Regions from separate parts of the Homo sapiens genome. Here regions 2, 3, 4, 5 and 6 are each linked to region 1. The links are contacts of gene promoters, found by promoter capture Hi-C in blood cells and fetal thymus (Javierre and others, 2016). All regions are on one chromosome and are shown on one strand. Each heading gives the region's core, a stretch centred on a gene start or on the middle of the fragment in contact. The rest is flanking DNA. Distances are from core to core; before and after follow the strand shown. Region 1 holds the start of FMNL2 (formin like 2). Region 2 overlaps CACNB4 (calcium voltage-gated channel auxiliary subunit beta 4). Region 3 overlaps PRPF40A (pre-mRNA processing factor 40A). Region 4 overlaps CACNB4 (calcium voltage-gated channel auxiliary subunit beta 4). Region 5 overlaps PRPF40A (pre-mRNA processing factor 40A). Region 6 overlaps PRPF40A (pre-mRNA processing factor 40A).

Region 1 (2,700 bases), core at 111-2,610:
TGGAAAGCTGGGAGAAGCGGAATGCAGGAGGGAGCGGGGGACCTGGCTGGGCGTGCAAGAGGAGGGGAGGGGTCGCCCGTGCAGTCAGGACAGCTCGCAACACGTCCCCGCAAAACTCCACATTTTTGTGGTTTAAGATTTAAGTCTAGAGGGAACGCGCTGAGGTTCTCCCCGGCCTGGGTTTCAGATGCCCCTGCTCCTCGCCAAGGGCCGGGGCGCCGCACTGCTGTGGGTCTCCGCTTTCCCTTTCGGGGAAGCTCCCCTTGGCCAAGCCGCGACGTGAGCCCTCCAAGTTCGCCTCCGCTCACCGCCCGGCGCGGCGCCCGCGGCCGGCCACATGCGCCCCATCTGCCGGGGACTTCGCAGGTCCCGGGCTGGCCGCCCGAGGGATGGTCCGCAGGGGCTCAGGGTGTTTTGTTTTGTTTTGTTTTGTTTTGTTTTTTTTAAAAAAAAAGCCTAAGCGGCTCGCCACCTCCTCCTCCCAGCCCGCGCCACCTTCTCTTCACGCCCACGCCGCACCTCCCGGGCACACGCGCCGTGAGGTGCCTCTCCAGCCAGACAATGGGTTCGAGGCTGGTTGGGCAGCCGGCCCTGAGCCCCCATCCCCATCCCGGGACCCCGAGAGACTGAGCGCGGGGGACTGCCAGGGGGGTGAAGAGGAGTGCTGGGGGGCCACAAAGGGGAAAGCGGGAGCCTCCCCCTCGGGAATGGAGGCTCGCTCCCGGCACGGGGTGAAGGGGAGGGGCGGGGGTCAGCTGCGCCGCCCGGCCCGGGGCCCCGGGTCCCCGCGCCCGACCGCCGCCGCGCACTTACCAGCACGATGGCAAATCGCTCCTCCAGTTCACCTGGCTCTGGCATCGGCAGCTTCAAAGGCACGTTGTGCGCCCTGAAATCGGTCTGCTGCGAATCCATGCTCCCTGCGTTGCCCATGTCGGCGGCGCGCCGGGGCCGGGGGCTGCTCCGGGCCCCTAGCGTGCGCGTCGGAAATCAGAACAGCTCCCGGCGGTCGGCTGCCGCCCGCAGGCGCGACCTGCCCGGCTCCCCGCCCTCCGCCGCGCCCAGGCGGGTGTGCGGCGCGCACCGCTCCCTAGCAGCGCTCCAAGCCGAGCCGCCCCCCGGCCTCCCTCATGCTCTCCGCCGCCCCAGCGCGGCCCCGGCCTCTTTTCCTCGGGAGGGGTAGTTGGGGCGCTGGGCGCCTATGTGCATGGTGCTCCGCTGGCACACCGCCCCCTGCCAGAGATCGCGGCCCCCGGCGCGTGGTCCCTCCTACTCGGCCTTCTGCCGGGCCCGCGGCCGCCGCTGACACTTCCAGCCCTAGCCGGCCACGGCTGCGCCTGCCTGGCTAGCACCTGGAGCAGACAAATGCAGCTCCGCGCTCCCCTACACAATGCCACCTCTCGCCCGGCGCCCGGCCCCCGCCCCCGGCCCGGCTCCGCCCACTCGCCCCGCGGACTGCCGGGACGCGTAGTTTCTCTCCAAAGTGTCCGCGCGCAGAAACCACGCCTGCTCTAGAGCGCCAGGCCGGGTTGGGACCATTTGCAGCAAAGGCGATCCGTAGTCTCTGGAGATAGCATATTGTCACTTTTGACCCTCCTCACCCCAACAGTGGAATACTTACATCGTGTATATCATGTTGACACTTGGTAGGCGGGTCTGACCATGACGGAATCGAATCAATGAATGAAGGAATGCATGCCTTCTGATTAAAATTCAGAAAATCGTTGCTGTTTTTAAAAGATCTAGTTCAGTAAGGAACTTCGAAAGCACTGGCAAAGTTCTGTTTCATAAACGGGGGGGTGGGTCCATGGGTGCTTGTTTATCGTTCTTTCTTCCATATATATGTTCTTTGGTGTGATTGAAATGTTTTATAAACAGATGTATAATTTATGGGTATATATAGTCAGACCCTAGGAGCTAGGTAAGGATTCAATTCAATTTAAAAAAAAAACCTGTCAAACACCTATTATGTATGGGATATTGTGTTCCTTGGTGGGAGAAAAAAGAGATTTGCCCTGCGCTGGAATACTTGCCAATCTAGTGAAGGAAAAAATGTACACACCCATATTTCATGTGAGATGGATATAATGATAGAGTGTTCTGGGAGACTTTGGGATGATCTTTGGCTGCAGCTCTCTTATTCCTTCACAGCAGTCTTGAGCAAGGTGTCTTACAGAAAAGATTGGACCTGACTCTGTCCTCTGGGGTGTATTTCAGACTATAACTACCCGTTCTGAAACCTCGGAAATAGAAATAGCCTTATAAGAGACTTTAGCCAACTGCTCATGTGAATGTTAAGGGCATACATCTGGTTGACTTGTGGCTGAACTTCTGCAGTTAGTCCTTTCTTAGTTTAAAGCAGTGTTTCTTAATCCTAGATGTGTATCAGATTCGCTTGGGAAGCTTTTTGTTAAAACTACACACACCTTGGGCTCTGCGTATTATCAGAATCTCCCTAAGCTGAGAGCCGAAGCCTGGGCCGGTGTATTTTCAACAAGCTCCCCAGGTGATTTTGATATGCAGGTAAGGTTGTTATCCTTTTAGTAAATAGCAAGTGTTTCTGGACAAGGTAGTACACCAAGATTCAATCAAGGACATTTCATTCATCTTTATAAACTTCAAGATACTTTAAACATAGTAGACGCCCAAGAACTATTTGTGGAATTGACAAGTGACTTTTTCCAAAAGCATATGACACAAATA
Region 2 (2,801 bases), core at 45-2,544, 280 kb after region 1:
AGGGCAGAAAGTTGGAGGTAACAGTATCCATAGGATAATCACCATTCTCGCCTTATTGTCTAGGGATTTCAGACATCCTGAATGGGTACTAAATTTTCCACAGGATGTGGAGTTGTGGTGCAAGCAGTGGTAACTGGAGCATAAAGAGCAGCATGATTCCAGTTGCCATCTGGGTTATAATAATAATAGAACTATGAAGAAAATGCCAAGGGCATCACACACAGGTAGAGTCTATTAATTGCCTAGCAAAGCTGGGAAGACGTCACTAGGGGGTGGCATGTCTAGGTCTTCCCGTGTGAGCAGCAGAAGGAAGGTACCTTCCAGAGCAAAGGAGTTTCTAGTAGTGCAGTGGTTTTAGTAAACCTGGAGAAAGTTGATGAGGCTTGAGTGTGTGAAACATGGGAGATAATTGTAGCGGATAAACTGACAAAGCATTTGGGGACACGATATTTCTGAAAATTTCTAATTTCTTTTTTTTTTTTTTTGAGACAGAGTCTCACTCTGTCACCCAGGCTGGAGTGCAGTGGCGTGATCTTGGCTCACTGCAAGCTCTGCCTCCTGGGTTCATGCCATTCTCCTGCCTCAGCCTCCCAAGTAGCTGGGACTACAGGCCCTGCCACCATGCCTGGCTAATTTTTTGTATTTTTAGTAGAGACGGGGTTTCACCGTGTTAGCCAGGATGGTCTTGATCTCCTGACTTCGTGATCCATCTGCCTTGGCCTCCTAAAGTGCTGGGATTACAGGGGTGAGCCACCGTGCCCAGCCGAAAATATCTAATTTCTAAAAAATCTTGCGGGTATTGATGAACCAATTGGTATAACCAGATTTTTAAATATGGTCCTTCTGGCTTCAGTGTGGTGGGTAGTCACAGGGGCGTGGTGGTGAGTAGAAACCATGTGAGGAGGTGATGATAGTAACAGGCGAGTGAGGATATAAACATACTGAGCTTCGGTCGCCACTCACTTGCTGTGCCTTGACTGCTCTTTGTCACACTTTGCCCAGTTTCTGTCTCCTTCCTCCTTAGTAGTCAAAGTTTGAAAATTTCAGAGGTTAGAGTTCCTCCGAAAAAAGTTATTTGTCTTGGCAATAGCTTCTTAATTATCTTCTTAGAATCAGGGGGGAAATCAGCCTTCAAAGCTATTTTAAGGATTAATTAACAATTCTGAAAGGCTCCAGAAGCTTAAAAGCCTTATCTAGACTTTGCAGTGTTCAGTAATAATCAAAGTGATAATCAGAGCACAGCAGGACTCAGTGGGGTGTGCAAATCCATTCATGTCTTGCATTGCCTGTGGGCTGTGTGGTCTGCCATGTCTCCATAAGTGAGTGAGTCAGGGTAAGGAGAGGCCCTGCTGCTAAAGTGGAAAAGAATCAATGCCTACAACTGACAATACAAGCTGAAAAAAGCTTGTTTAAAGTTGATCTTAAGATATGGCACTGAAGCACAAGTAACCAAAGAAAAAAATGAATAATTTGGAGCTCATCAAAATTAAAAACTTCTGTGCTTCAAAGGTTACTATCAAGAAAGTAAGAAGAAGACCAGGCATGGTGGCTCACACCTGTAATCCCAGCATTTTGGGAGGCCAAGGCAGGCCGATCACTTGAGGTCAGGAGTTCCAGACCAGCCTGGCCAACATGGTGAAACCCTGTCTCTACTAAAAATACAAAAATTAGCCAAGTGTGGTGGCATGTGCCTATAGTCCCAGCTACTCGGGAGGCTGAGACATGAGAATCCCTTGAACCTGGGAGGCAGCGGTTACGGTGAGCTGAGATTGTGCCACTGCATTGCAGCTTGGGTGACAGAGCAAGGCTCTGTCTTAAAACAAAAAAGAAGACAACCCACAGACTGGGAGGAAATATTTGCAAATCTTATATCTGATAAGGGACTTGTGTCTAGGATATATAAAGAACTTTTAGACTCAGTAGAAAAGACGTTTCAAAAATAGGCAATGGATAGGAATAGACATTTGTCCAAAGAAGACATACCAGTGGCCAATAATCACATAAAAAAAAGTGCTCCGTATCATTAGTCACCAGGAGGAAATGCAATTCAAAACCACAATGACATGCCACTTTACACCCACTAGGATGGCTATAATAAAAAAGACAGATAATTTTTGGCAAGAATATGGGGAAATTGGAATCCTCATACACTGCTGGTAGGAATGTAAAATGGTGCAACTACCATGGAAAAGTTTGGCAGTTTCTGAAAAGGTTAAGTATAGAGTTATCTTATGACCCAGCAAGTCCACTACTAGGTACATATGCAGGATAAATGAAGGCATGTGTCCACACAAAAGCCTATACAAGAATGTTTTTTGCAGCATTATTCGTAATAGACAAAAAAGGAAACAACCCAAATGGTCATCAGTTGATGAGTGGATAAGTAAAATATGGTCTGAAGAAAAAATAAACAATTTTTCTCCTCTACTGTCATACAGTCACTCAACACAATACTATTTTTTTTTTTTTTTTTTTTTTTTGAGACGGAGTTTTGCTTTGTCGCCCAGGCTGGAGTGCAGTGGCGCGATCTCGGCTCACTGCAAGCTCCGCCTCCCGGGTTCACGCCATTCTCCTGCCTCAGCCTCCCGTGTAGCTGGGACTACAGGCGCGCGCCACCACGCCCGGCTAATTTTTGTATTTTTAGTAGAGACGGGGTTTCACCGCGTTAGCCAGGATGGTCTCGATCTCCTGACCTCGTGATCTGCCCGTCTCGGCCTCCCAAAGTGCTGGGATTACAGGCGTGAGCCACCGCGCCCGGCCAACACAATACTTCTTAAGTGTAGAGGGTTTTTTCCACACAC
Region 3 (2,819 bases), core at 188-2,687, 320 kb before region 1:
AATTCCAGTAACTTTTAGAAATACTGATTTGGGGTGGAGGAAGGGCAAATAAATAGGAGAGGAGAATATAAGCCAAAGTTAGTATTTCAATAACAGATTACATAATTAGTCCTTTTCAAATATATGTATATATGAATGACAGAGCCTAATAATGCAAATGCTGTGGGTTTAGCAAGGGTAAATGCCTATGAATCATCACTGGAGAGCATAAACTATGTAGGTAAAACCCTATTAGGGATCTCTGGATATTCTGATTCGTTGGTATAGGGTGGGTTTTTTTTTAGAGCTGAAACAGGTGAGTCTGAGTCACATCGTAAGTGAAGAGTGAATGTTTCCTTTGTACTTTCTAGCAGCTTATGGTGGGTTAAATGAAATCCCTGGAGTGAATGAAAGAGGACGATATGGGAACTATCCACTTTTCAAAGGTTGTGTCTTACGGTGCAGTATTATTTTTGTTTGTTCAGCCTAAATCTTGTCCTGCTCATTAGTCTTGTGTATTTATTTGGCACAGGAATCCATATGCTTAAAGCATACTACTTCTGTTTCTGTGATAATACTTGTGGAACCAGGGGGAAGCTACAAAATTAGCAAGGAATAGGCCAGGTGCAGTGGCTCACACCTGTGATCCTAGCCCTTTGGGAGGCCGAGGTGGGCAGATCACGAGGTCAGGAGTCGAGACCAGCCTGGCCAACATGGCAAAACCCCATCTCTACTAAAAATACAAAAATGAGCCGGGCTTGGTGGCAGGCACCTGTAATCCCAGCTACTCAGGAGGCTGAGGCAGGAGAATTGCTTGAACCCAGGAGGCAGAGGTTGCAGAGAGCCGAGATCGTGCCACTGCACTCCAGCCTGGGTGACAAGAACAAGACTCTGTCTCAACAAAAAAATTAGCAAGGAATGTATTATCTAGGAAATGAATACCTGGCTTCCATTAAATGGAAATATTGCTTCATATTCACACAGTCTTTAAACCCTGTGAAATGTGTTTCTTTGGAAGAGAGTTTATATAGATATTGGATTCTTTTTTCAAAGGCTCAGCCCGTAAACCTCTGAGTACTGATGTCAACTATAATTGTAATCAATGTCTTTTCAGGGTAATTGGGATACTTCTGGCAGCGAACTGAGTGAAGGGGAATTGGAAAAGCGCAGAAGAACCCTTTTGGAGCAACTGGATGATGATCAATAAATTATACCAAATATATGTTTACAGTATGATTTAAAGTCTGATTCAGACCAGGGACTCTATTTTAAGTTCAACTGAAATAACACTGGGTTTTAATTATATCACAGGAAAAAAAAAGTGCATTTAAGTATTGTTATCGTGGACTTTATAAAAGCAAAGGAAATTGAAAGTAACTTTTGATTCTGTATCAAGAATCATATTTTCATACAGTCATAACTGTCTTTCTGTGACCCTTTCACAGGGCACTGTAGGATGGATTAAAGGTGGCAATTTACTGATAACTGCAGATGTCTCTACTTTGTTCTAAAATCTAAGTCATGAGGTGATTTGATTTACTTTATAGAAGCTGGATTTTGAAGATCTAATGAAAAATTTTTTGATAATATAGTAGTACAAAAAAAGCACCAGCAACTGATAAAAATTGCTTTTTTGTGCGCTACCCAACTGGTTAAAGCCAATGTGATCTTTTATGGTGAAACTCCTAAGAAACAGGTGGTTTTGCTGGAAACTTGGTAGACCCTTAATTATAGTGGTGCTAATGAGCACTACTGTAATATAAAGCCACCATTATTTTTTATCAAACATCTGAATACATTTTACAAAGGCTATTGTGAGGGCATTATTTTGAGCATCTATTTTGAGGTGATGTTTAAAAAAACTTTAACATCAAATCAAATTGTAAATTAATTTAAATATATTGCCTTAAGGACCTACTAAAGAATGTGCCACCAGACTTTAAGTGATAGTTGCAATATCCTTGTCTAAAAAAAAAAAAAAAGTTGACTTAAACATTTTCTTTAACAGTTGTCTTTTTTTTCTAAATTCAGTCTTTCTCTTGCTTTTTTTTCCCTGCTATTGAGGAAGTATTTTGCCTTCCCTACTCACTGAGAAGTATTGACTTCGTGGTACACATTCTAAAGCATTTCTGATTTGAATATTTTTGTACATTTTTATCAATTATTAAACCTTCTCTTCTAGTGTGTACTAGTATTTATTTCTACTTAAACTGCTCAGCTCTAAAGAAATTGTATGATCACTTTAAAGGTACTAAATCCCTGAAATTTTGCTTCATCTTACCCACACCGCTAGTTTACTTTCCTTTTTTAATATTTAAGAATATTATAAATCAGTGCATTTGAGGTCCCTAGATTTGTTTTTCACCTATGAATTTTTTACAGACTATTTTAGAGAGGCTGTGGTTTGAAGACAGAATACTCTTTACATGCTAACTTTTGAAGGTTGGTAATGTAATTTATACTATTTTCCTTCAGTGCAGGAGATTTTTTAAGTAAATAAGTAAATTTTAGCACCTATTCTTCGGTATTATCTGTGTTATTCTTTTAATGTGTACACTTGAAGAGATCCTATTTCAAAGTTGGGATTTTGAAGAACAAAAAGTTTTTTTCTTACCCATCCTAGTGAGTTTTGAAAGTGGGCCTGACCAGAATGTCTCTTTCCCATTTTGCCCCGTTTGAATTAAATATAATGTCTACTCTTTAAAGGCTGAAGGGGTGGGTGAGGGGATTGTTTCTCATTTTGTCTCCCAAGTCATTTTTCTGCTGTGAAATATGACCAGGCTTGTAGGAAGACTCATCTTGGAGAAAATGTGAAGTAATCAAATTGCTTGAGATTAGTC
Region 4 (2,700 bases), core at 36-2,535, 300 kb after region 1:
CTTTGGAGAGAGAAAATGCATTAAGCAAAAAAGCATTTAGATTTTTTTGAATTCCCTATTATTAAAAATAAAGTTGTATTAAAATGTCTCGGTAATATATGGTTAAACCATAGTCTCTATTTGTGTTTTTTAAGGAATTTGTAATTAATTGTGGCTTTCTTAAAATCATGACCGACTGAGTTAGATGTGCCACCATCAATAGTTGATAGCTAAAATTAGTAGCAAGTTAACAATTTACTTGTTCATTTCCATGGGCTGCTAAGTAGATTTTGGTCCAATGTATTTTAGGGGAAAAAATGTTACACTGAGAGTCAGGAGACATGGCTGTTGCCCCTTCCTGGCTGTGTGGCCTGGGTCAGTCCCTTCCCTTCTCAGGCCAATTTCTTATCCGTGGAGCAAAGATAATGGACGGGGGGAAGGGGATTCCTTCCAGCTCTCCACAGTCTCTGGTTCTATATTTTGAAGCCATCTGTGGGGCAGTTTTAACAGAAGGTCTGAAAAAATCAGACTTGGTCATGTGCCTCCTATTCCTTTTTTCTCTCTCTCTATTTGCCACATCCTTTCCCCACACTATAGAAGGATCCAGACACTCGAATCATCAAGGCTCTGTTGCTCTCCGCTCTTGCCTGAATATGAAATGAGGGAGTTTGCTGTCCCCTGATGGAGCCTTCGTTCAAGCAAGCCACGGGCTGTGAGGCTTTCACCCTTGGCTTGGCAAGACTGTCAGCACGGTGCTTCCCTTTTAGAGAGCCTAATGCCAACAGAAAGGGCAGTTTTCTAGTAATGGAGGAAAATATCAGTTTTCAAAAATATGGATAATTTTTAAAACCTCCTCTTTTTCCTGTTGCCTAGTTCTCTACCATTAACTCCAGGTCTCTCTTCAGGGTCTAGCAGAGACCCTGCTGACTGTCCTCTCACTCCTTAGAGGCCATCAGGACTCTGAAATCCGAGGATTAATGGCGGCCGGGAGGGGCTGATGGGCAGGGGAGAAAGCCTAGGATTAAGGATGAGGAGACCTGAGCTCCATCTGTGGATCCTCCTCTGCCTGGTCCCAGGCCTTTGAGCAAGCCCCTGGCTGTGTCTGACCTGCCTTCCTCCCTCAGGTTGTGCTGCAGAGGGGCCACAGTACAGATAACACAGCACCCGTCAACAGTGGGATATTAGGAGGAGAAGAAGTCTCCGCTCACCTGCGTGTGCTCTCTCATCCTCAGAGTCCCATGTTTCCAGTTTCTGGAAGGTCCTCCTACCAGCCTGAACTACATGCATTGTATAACACGTAACTGCAATTTAAATCTTGATTTACCCTCAGAGTCTTATTCGGTCATTAAGTCATCATCATAATATCTTGTACCTGTTACTTGTTCAGATTTAATAATTTGTGAAGTGTCCTTTGTGGGGTGACCAACAGTCCTGGGGACTGAGGGGTTTCCCAGGATGTACAATATTAGGTGCTAAAACTGAAAGAGTTCTGGGCACATCAGGATGATGGTCATTCTTCTCTTGGTTCCTCTTTTTCTTTCTGGAAGGAAGTTTCTCTGTAAATTGTTATTTCTTCATCTGTAAAATATCTTGCTAGTCCCGTGGCAATACCGCCTGTCTACCCCAAGTACCCTTTCTCCTGGACTGCTTGTATCCACTTCCCTGTTACTGCTGTGTTTTCTGCCCAGGGCTGAGGCTGTGCAGTGAATGAATCATCTTTCCCCAACCTTGCTTGACATCAGTATCAATTTTAGAAGGTGAGAGTGCCACATTTTCTTAATCCAGTCTATCATTGATGGACATTTGGGTTGGTTCCAACTGGATTAAGAAAATGTGGCACATATACACCATGGAATACTATGCAGCCATAAAAAAGGATGAGTTCACGTCCTTTGTAGGGACATGGAGGCAGCTGGAAACCATCATTCTCAGCAAACTATTGCAGGGACAGAAAACCAAACACTGCATGTTCTCACTCATAGGTGGGAATTGAACAATGAGAACACTTGGACACAGGAAGGGGAACATCACACACTGGGGCCTGTCAAGTGGGGAGGGATAGCATTAGGAGATATACCTAATGTAAATGACAAGTTAATGGGTGCAGCACACCAACATGGCACATGTATACATATGTAACAAACCTGCACGTTGTGCACATGTACCCTAGAACTTAAAGTATAAGAAAAATAAATAAATACATAAAATTCTTTTCAATAACAATGGAAACAAAATTTTCTAAAATTATGAGATCATATCTGTAAAAATTAATGATGATCTTGTGTAAAATTTCATCTATACATAGTGAATTATACTATTAATATTGATGAAAAAATGTAAACATAAATCTAGTGTCTTATAAGCATGAAAAATGTCCAAGTATTTTCAATGTTGTGTTTCTTTTGTCTTAACAAACATGTCCTACAGTGTTATTTGACTATGTGTGAATTTTATTTTTTCAAGACTGTGTTAATATAATCCTCAAACTATTTTAGAAGCAACTAAATAGTGAATAAAGTGAAGAGTAGAAATGTAATCAGAAAAAAAAAAGAAGGTAAGAGTGCTCACAATTGCCTCAAAAAGAAAATGAGGCTTCTTGAATTTGCACTTCAGCATTCTCTACTCAGTGCACCTGTTTGTGTAATTTGCTCTTTTCTTGTTATCATGATGCATGACTGTATTAGTCAGCTCAGGATGCCACAACAAAATACTGTAGACCAG
Region 5 (2,861 bases), core at 312-2,811, 350 kb before region 1:
TCCCTGTTAAATTTCATCTTGTTGATAGTTAAATTCTGATTGTTGTCCAGAAGCTGTGTTTTGACAGCTGTGTCTTTCTTTATGGAATATCAATTAGAACTTTGTCTAAGTTGATACAAGTATTCCTTGGACTACAGTAGATGAATAGATGATCACATAGTCAGTTCAAATATATTAGCATCTAGTTCCTATATTTTCTTTATCCACTAGGCACAGATTTGTATTCTGAAAGATTGTCTTTTGTATGTAAGCTATAAAGTTACTGTTCTTAGGAGAGTAGTCTTATCTTTGTAATTCAGAGAGATCCTGAAACTTGAATTTACCCTTGCTGCTTTTGAAGTACTCTAAAAACCTTGTTTTTCAGTTCCCTTCCTACTTGTATTGATGAATTATTCTAGATTACTTAAACTGTCAAAATATGCCCAGTTTTTACTTTTGATTGATTTCTTAATATATTTATTGCCTTGGAACTAATGATACTGATATTGTCAATGGCATTGTTACATAATTTACATCTTTTTTAATCTTTATTCTTTAGAAATCAATGTGGACTGAACATAAATCACCTGATGGAAGGACTTACTACTACAACACTGAAACCAAACAGTCTACCTGGGAGAAACCAGATGATCTTAAAACACCTGCTGAGGTAAAAGTTTGAGAGCTGGAATTCAGGGACTGTCAAGTAGACTGGGGCGTATTTTTTAGGATTCTATAAGTAGTCGATTATCAAAGAGCAGTACTGCTTAAATGTCAGAAGAGGATCTGTAAAGACATTCAGAAAAAAAGAGGGTTAGTATAGTCACACCAATCGGGAAGAAGAGCAATAAAACTCAACAGAATAATTTTATTTACTGATTTTACCCCTGCTTAGAAAACCTAGTAGAGTGGGATCAATTTTAAAAAGGTGATTTAAAGAATAAATTGGAAGTGGGGAAGACTGTTTCTTTGCCTGCCGCTGGCTTTTTTTTCTGATAGCAAAACTGGGTGATTTTAAATGACTTCTACTGAGTTCTTAAATTTCCAGTAGGGTTAAGGGTAGTGGAGATGAAATTAAGTTACCTACAAATACTTCCTTCTCTTAGAGTGGGAAGTTTTCTCTTTGCAGGAAATGCCCTTTTAAAAAGTGTGTTTTTATTTTGTTTTTTGTTACAAGTTTTACCATTCAAAATATACAGATATTGAAGAAAAAGTTAAGGTTGAAGGAATAAACTGAATTAAGCAATGTCACATGTTGTTTAATTAGAAACTCTGGGGTGCTAAGTAAGTAAGAGTTGATCTGGCACTCCAGGCTATGCTTAAGTTTCATCCTAGCTGGTGGTATACCTTTTTGTTTTCTTCTCTTCCTAATTAAGGAATTTGAGAAGGTAAAAGTATTTTCCAGGTTGCTGTACTAACATGAACAGCAGTGCTTGGGAGGGGAGGTCGGACGATTTTTAAAAACATGTATTCCAGTACTGATTTATAGCCAATGATATTAATTACATACTTTGTCCAAGACACTCTGTTTGGATTCACACTTTGAATAGATTTCTCATACTACCCTAACAGGTTTTGTTTATTCGATTTTAAGTATATTATACCTACATGTTTTCTTACATAATAAGTTAATTCGTTCATAAACTACGAAACTGAAATCTAAGCATGACTAAATTAGATTTTGTTTTTTTTGAACTTTTATGGTTTTCCAACTAATATTAGTATCAGAGAAGTCTGTTAAATGTGGATGATAGGCCGGGCGCGGTGGCTCACACTTGTAATCCCAGCACTTTGGGAGGCCGAGGCGGGCGGATCACGAGGTCAGGAGTTCGAGACCACGGTGAAACCCCGTCTCTACTAAAAAAAAATACAAAAAATTAGCTGGGCGTGGTGGCGGGCGCCTGTAGTCCCAGCTACTCAGAGAGGCTGAGGCAGGAGAATGGCGTGAACCCGAGAGGCGGAGCTTGCAGTGAGCCGAGGTCGAGCTACTGTACTCCAGCCTGGGTGACAAAGCGAGACTCCGTCTCAAAAAAAAAAAAAAAAAAAAATGTGGATGATAATCTTGACCTATAATGGGGTGTGAATGGTTACAGTAAATAGGATTTGAAATTCATATAGAACTGGTTTTGAATCTTGTCTCTGCTTTTTAATGAGTATATTACCTTAAACAAGTTACTTTCTGACTTCAAGTAACAGTCCCTAGATACAGAATTATGTTACACATTTTGCAGTGTTATAAAGATTAAATAATGTATTCAAATGGCATCACTCAGTGAATATTCAATAATTGATAGTTTATATTATTACCATCATCTCACGAGTTTTAGAATTGTATCAATTGGTAATTTCTAGTGAAAACAGCCATGTAAATGATCAGTGATGTTAAATATATTATTATTAACAAACAGTTTTTTCCTTTTCAGCAACTCTTATCTAAATGCCCCTGGAAGGAATACAAATCAGATTCTGGAAAGCCTTACTATTATAATTCTCAAACAAAAGAATCTCGCTGGGCCAAACCTAAAGAACTTGAGGATCTTGAAGGTAAAATGGGGAAAAGTAGTTTTCAATGTATATGTTTTACATATATATGCCATTCACTTTGAAACAATTCCTCCAGAATAGGATTGTTCAAACAAAGGCCTTATTTTTTTTTTTAATTAAATGATTAGAACATTTAAAATGGCGTATAACAGTTTTTTGGGCTCTTATTTTCTTGTTGCTTTAGATCTCAGTTCTGTAGATTTTAAATAGATTTTTATTTGATTTGATTCCACTGAAACTAGGATACCAGAATACCATTGTTGCTGGAAGTCTTATTACAAAATCAAACCTGCATGGTGAGCTGCTTTGATAATTCATTTTCTGTCATACTTAACATT
Region 6 (2,700 bases), core at 105-2,604, 370 kb before region 1:
TGTCTCATTTGCTCTTTCAGTCTATTTAGGAATCTCATAGGCCCTTCATCCTTTTTTTTTGTTATATATCAAATGCTTTAGAGAGATTTGGGGTTTGGGGTACTGATTCCTGAATTCCTTTTATTATCATCTCCCTTAGGTCCTGCATGTTTTTATTGTCCAACTGGGGGTCTCGGGCGGGGAATTTCTGGTTCACAGTAGGAACTTTTTGACTGGGAGGACACTCACGTTCCCAAATTACCATAGCAGCCCTACGAATCACACTCCCTTCTTTTCCTGAAAAGAGGATGTCCAAGATGGACATTAACTCTACCCAAGTGTATAACTGAGGTCCTAAAAATTGATCAGTTTGATCTGTCACTCCATAAGGGTCATCTTGCAGTGGCTTAAGCTCTTTCTTTAAATTCTGGACCTCTGAACTGATTAAGGGAGCATTCACGGAGCCAATGGTTCCCCCTCTTTATGGCATTTCTCTTAAGGGAAAGAGAGCAGGGGCTGACTCTTGAGTTGTAGAGGGGAAAGGGAAGTTCTGGATATCCTTTTTACATTGCTCTATTTCACACTGGAGTCCCTTTAGGGAGGGGTCCTTAGGCTGATAGGGGACAGGCTCCTGGGATGATAATTTCTAAAAGTCAGGATTGTAAGGAGGAGGAGTAACATGAGTAGGTGAAGGATCTAGAGTGGGATCTGGGGCAGCAGCGGCTGCCTGAGGAGAGGGGTTGGGGTCACTGAGTGGGGGAAGATGGTCTAGGGGATCCCATGTGCTGGAGTCTTTGAGCATTGGAACTAACTTACCTAATTTTTCCTTTTGTGATGCTAGATCAGGTTCTTTCCTAGTTGTCTCAAAGGGAAAAAGGAGGACAGGTCCCTGCCTCCAACAAAGAGCATAGTCCATTTCCTCTTAAGAAGCTGGGCTTTTATCATTGACATATTGAATCAAAAGCTGACACATCGCACTCTCATTTGACCTAAACTTTGGCCAGAAGATTGAGGGTTTGAGGATGGGTCCCTGAGTCCAAATAAAACAGTAATTGCTGCTGCTTATGTTTAGTCTTCTCATTATCTTTCCAGTCTTTTAACATGAGACCTAGGGGACTATCGGGGCAATATCTTTACTGCTACCTTTATCCTTTTTACTCCTTGTCTTGCTTAGGGTATTTCCCATGTCAGGTCCTAGTATTAGAGACTTCTTGCCTATTCTCTGGAGGCTTGTTAAGGCTCAGTCCCTTGTATTAGAGATTTCTTGCCTATCCTTTAACCCCGCCTCCTGGAGGATCCTTGCATCCTTCTTTTGCTTTGTCCACTCTGGCTACTTCCCTCGTGGGAATTTAGGCCCCTCTTGGCATTGGCATGCCGGTATGAAACCCACAGCAGGATCCGCCCTAAGCTGTATGAAGTGACCACAGAACTGCAGATAGGACCCACTCACTCTGCACAGCAGTAGTGCTTGGTACCATTCACACAAGCAGCACCGCAAGCAGTAGTGCTTGTGATCATTCACACACACTTTCATCCTCCAGAATATCCCAACCACCAAGGAAATACTTTGTCACCCCTGCAACATTTCTTACCTTGGTCTGTGCAGAGTTACCTGGTTGCTGCAGCATGTGAGAATCCTTTTGCCAAGCTGCTGGCCTGTATCTTTTCTTGTTGCCGAGAGTCTGGGTTTATTTGTTGCACTGGATGGGTTCCAATCTCTCACACTGAGGCCACTGCAACAAGGCGATGGGATGCGCCTCCCCACAAGAAGTGACCAGAGACCGGTTCCCCGGAGGAGAATGGGAATCCTGGGTGGGCCCCCAAATTGTTGGAAGTAAATGCTTGGTGTCACAAAGTGAAAATATACTCAGGCAAAAGTTTTCTCATCAAGGCAATTTACTTCTGTAGAAGGGTGTGTCTCGCGGATGGAGCAATGGCAAGAGCACACTGGACAAGGGAGGGAAAGGGGTTCTTATTCCTAACAGCTGGTCCCTACTGTTGTGTCTTTCCCCTATTGGCTAGGGTTGGACTGCACAATCTAAACTGACTCGATTGGCTGCTGTTTGTAATTGAACACAGATATCTAGGCGGGAAGGGGAAGGCTATGCGTTATGGCGTAAGACATGTCTAGGCATGTCAGGGCGCGGCAAGGGCAGGAAGGGTTAGTTATAGCATGGATAACTACAGAAACCAGAAAAACGAAGTGGAAGAACTGGGAATTAAAACCTTTTGAAGAGGAATTTATCATCTCTGTCATGATATTTTGCATTGGTGGATTTAAAAGGAAAGCCACTTCTGCTGCTTTCTTGCTCAGTGTACTCAAAGTGGGAATCTGAATCTTCTCCCAGTCTGAATGATTCTGTTAGTCATGAAGAACTAGTGAACACTGTCTTGAGTTGAAATTCAGTTTGCTCTGTCTTAGGCTTTGGTTTTTGTTTTTATTTTAACGAAAATCTTACATTTATCTTAGACTTTGATTTTTATTTTTTATTTATTTATTTTTTTTGAGACGGACTCTTGCTTTGTCGCCAGGCTGGAGCGCAGTGGCGCAATCTCAGCTCATTGCAACCTCCACCTCCCGAGTTCAAGCAATTCCTTTGCCTCAGCCTCCCAAGTAGCTGGGACTACAGGTGCGCATCACCATGCCTGGCTGATTTTTTGTATTTTGGTAGAGACGGGGTTTCACCATGTTGGCCAGGATGGTCTCGATTTCTCGTGATC

What was found. Contacts are between HindIII fragments. The CHiCAGO score rates a contact against its expected background, and 5 or more counts as called.
Region 2: a fragment that was not itself captured here is called in contact with the fragment with the promoter of FMNL2 in region 1 in 1 of 17 cell types (M1 macrophages); the score reaches 5.3 in M1 macrophages.
Region 3: a contact is called between a fragment that was not itself captured here and the fragment with the promoter of FMNL2 in region 1, in 3 of 17 cell types (M2 macrophages, M0 macrophages and M1 macrophages). The highest score is 6.5, in M2 macrophages.
Region 4: a contact is called between a fragment that was not itself captured here and the fragment with the promoter of FMNL2 in region 1, in 4 of 17 cell types (M2 macrophages, M0 macrophages, M1 macrophages and 1 more). The highest score is 12.8, in M2 macrophages.
Region 5: a fragment that was not itself captured here is called in contact with the fragment with the promoter of FMNL2 in region 1 in 1 of 17 cell types (M2 macrophages); the score reaches 5.3 in M2 macrophages.
Region 6: a contact is called between a fragment that was not itself captured here and the fragment with the promoter of FMNL2 in region 1, in 1 of 17 cell types (M2 macrophages). The highest score is 8.2, in M2 macrophages.

Annotation. Positions count from the first base shown.
Region 1 is chr2:152,333,834-152,336,533 of GRCh38, reverse strand. FMNL2 (formin like 2) reads right to left here and starts at 1,360. Exons shown (of 26, transcript NM_052905.4): 1 at 814-1,360. The coding sequence starts at 930. RefSeq lists silencers at 301-400, 911-1,560. The HindIII fragment of the contact is 3,556 bases long and covers 1-2,402 here.
Region 2 is chr2:152,054,045-152,056,845 of GRCh38, reverse strand. The region is part of intron 2 of CACNB4 (calcium voltage-gated channel auxiliary subunit beta 4); the gene reads left to right. Among named protein-coding and RNA genes, the nearest start is that of CACNB4, 44 kb to the left of the region's middle. RefSeq lists an enhancer at 2,616-2,801. The HindIII fragment of the contact is 225 bases long and covers 1,182-1,406 here.
Region 3 is chr2:152,654,673-152,657,491 of GRCh38, reverse strand. PRPF40A (pre-mRNA processing factor 40A) reads left to right here. Exons shown (of 26, transcript NM_001365597.4): 26 at 1,094-2,819. The coding sequence ends at 1,186. Among named protein-coding and RNA genes, the nearest start is that of PRPF40A, 61 kb to the left of the region's middle. The HindIII fragment of the contact is 5,764 bases long and covers 1-2,819 here.
Region 4 is chr2:152,029,937-152,032,636 of GRCh38, reverse strand. The region is part of intron 2 of CACNB4 (calcium voltage-gated channel auxiliary subunit beta 4); the gene reads left to right. Among named protein-coding and RNA genes, the nearest start is that of CACNB4, 68 kb to the left of the region's middle. The HindIII fragment of the contact is 4,901 bases long and covers 1-2,700 here.
Region 5 is chr2:152,679,014-152,681,874 of GRCh38, reverse strand. It overlaps PRPF40A (pre-mRNA processing factor 40A), which reads left to right. Exons shown (of 26, transcript NM_001365597.4): 6 at 539-649; 7 at 2,403-2,523; 8 at 2,766-2,819. Among named protein-coding and RNA genes, the nearest start is that of PRPF40A, 37 kb to the left of the region's middle. The HindIII fragment of the contact is 5,258 bases long and covers 1-2,861 here.
Region 6 is chr2:152,700,802-152,703,501 of GRCh38, reverse strand. All of the region lies in intron 2 of PRPF40A (pre-mRNA processing factor 40A), which reads left to right. Among named protein-coding and RNA genes, the nearest start is that of PRPF40A, 15 kb to the left of the region's middle. RefSeq lists enhancers at 540-1,041, 1,314-2,513, 2,000-2,627. The HindIII fragment of the contact is 5,812 bases long and covers 1-2,700 here.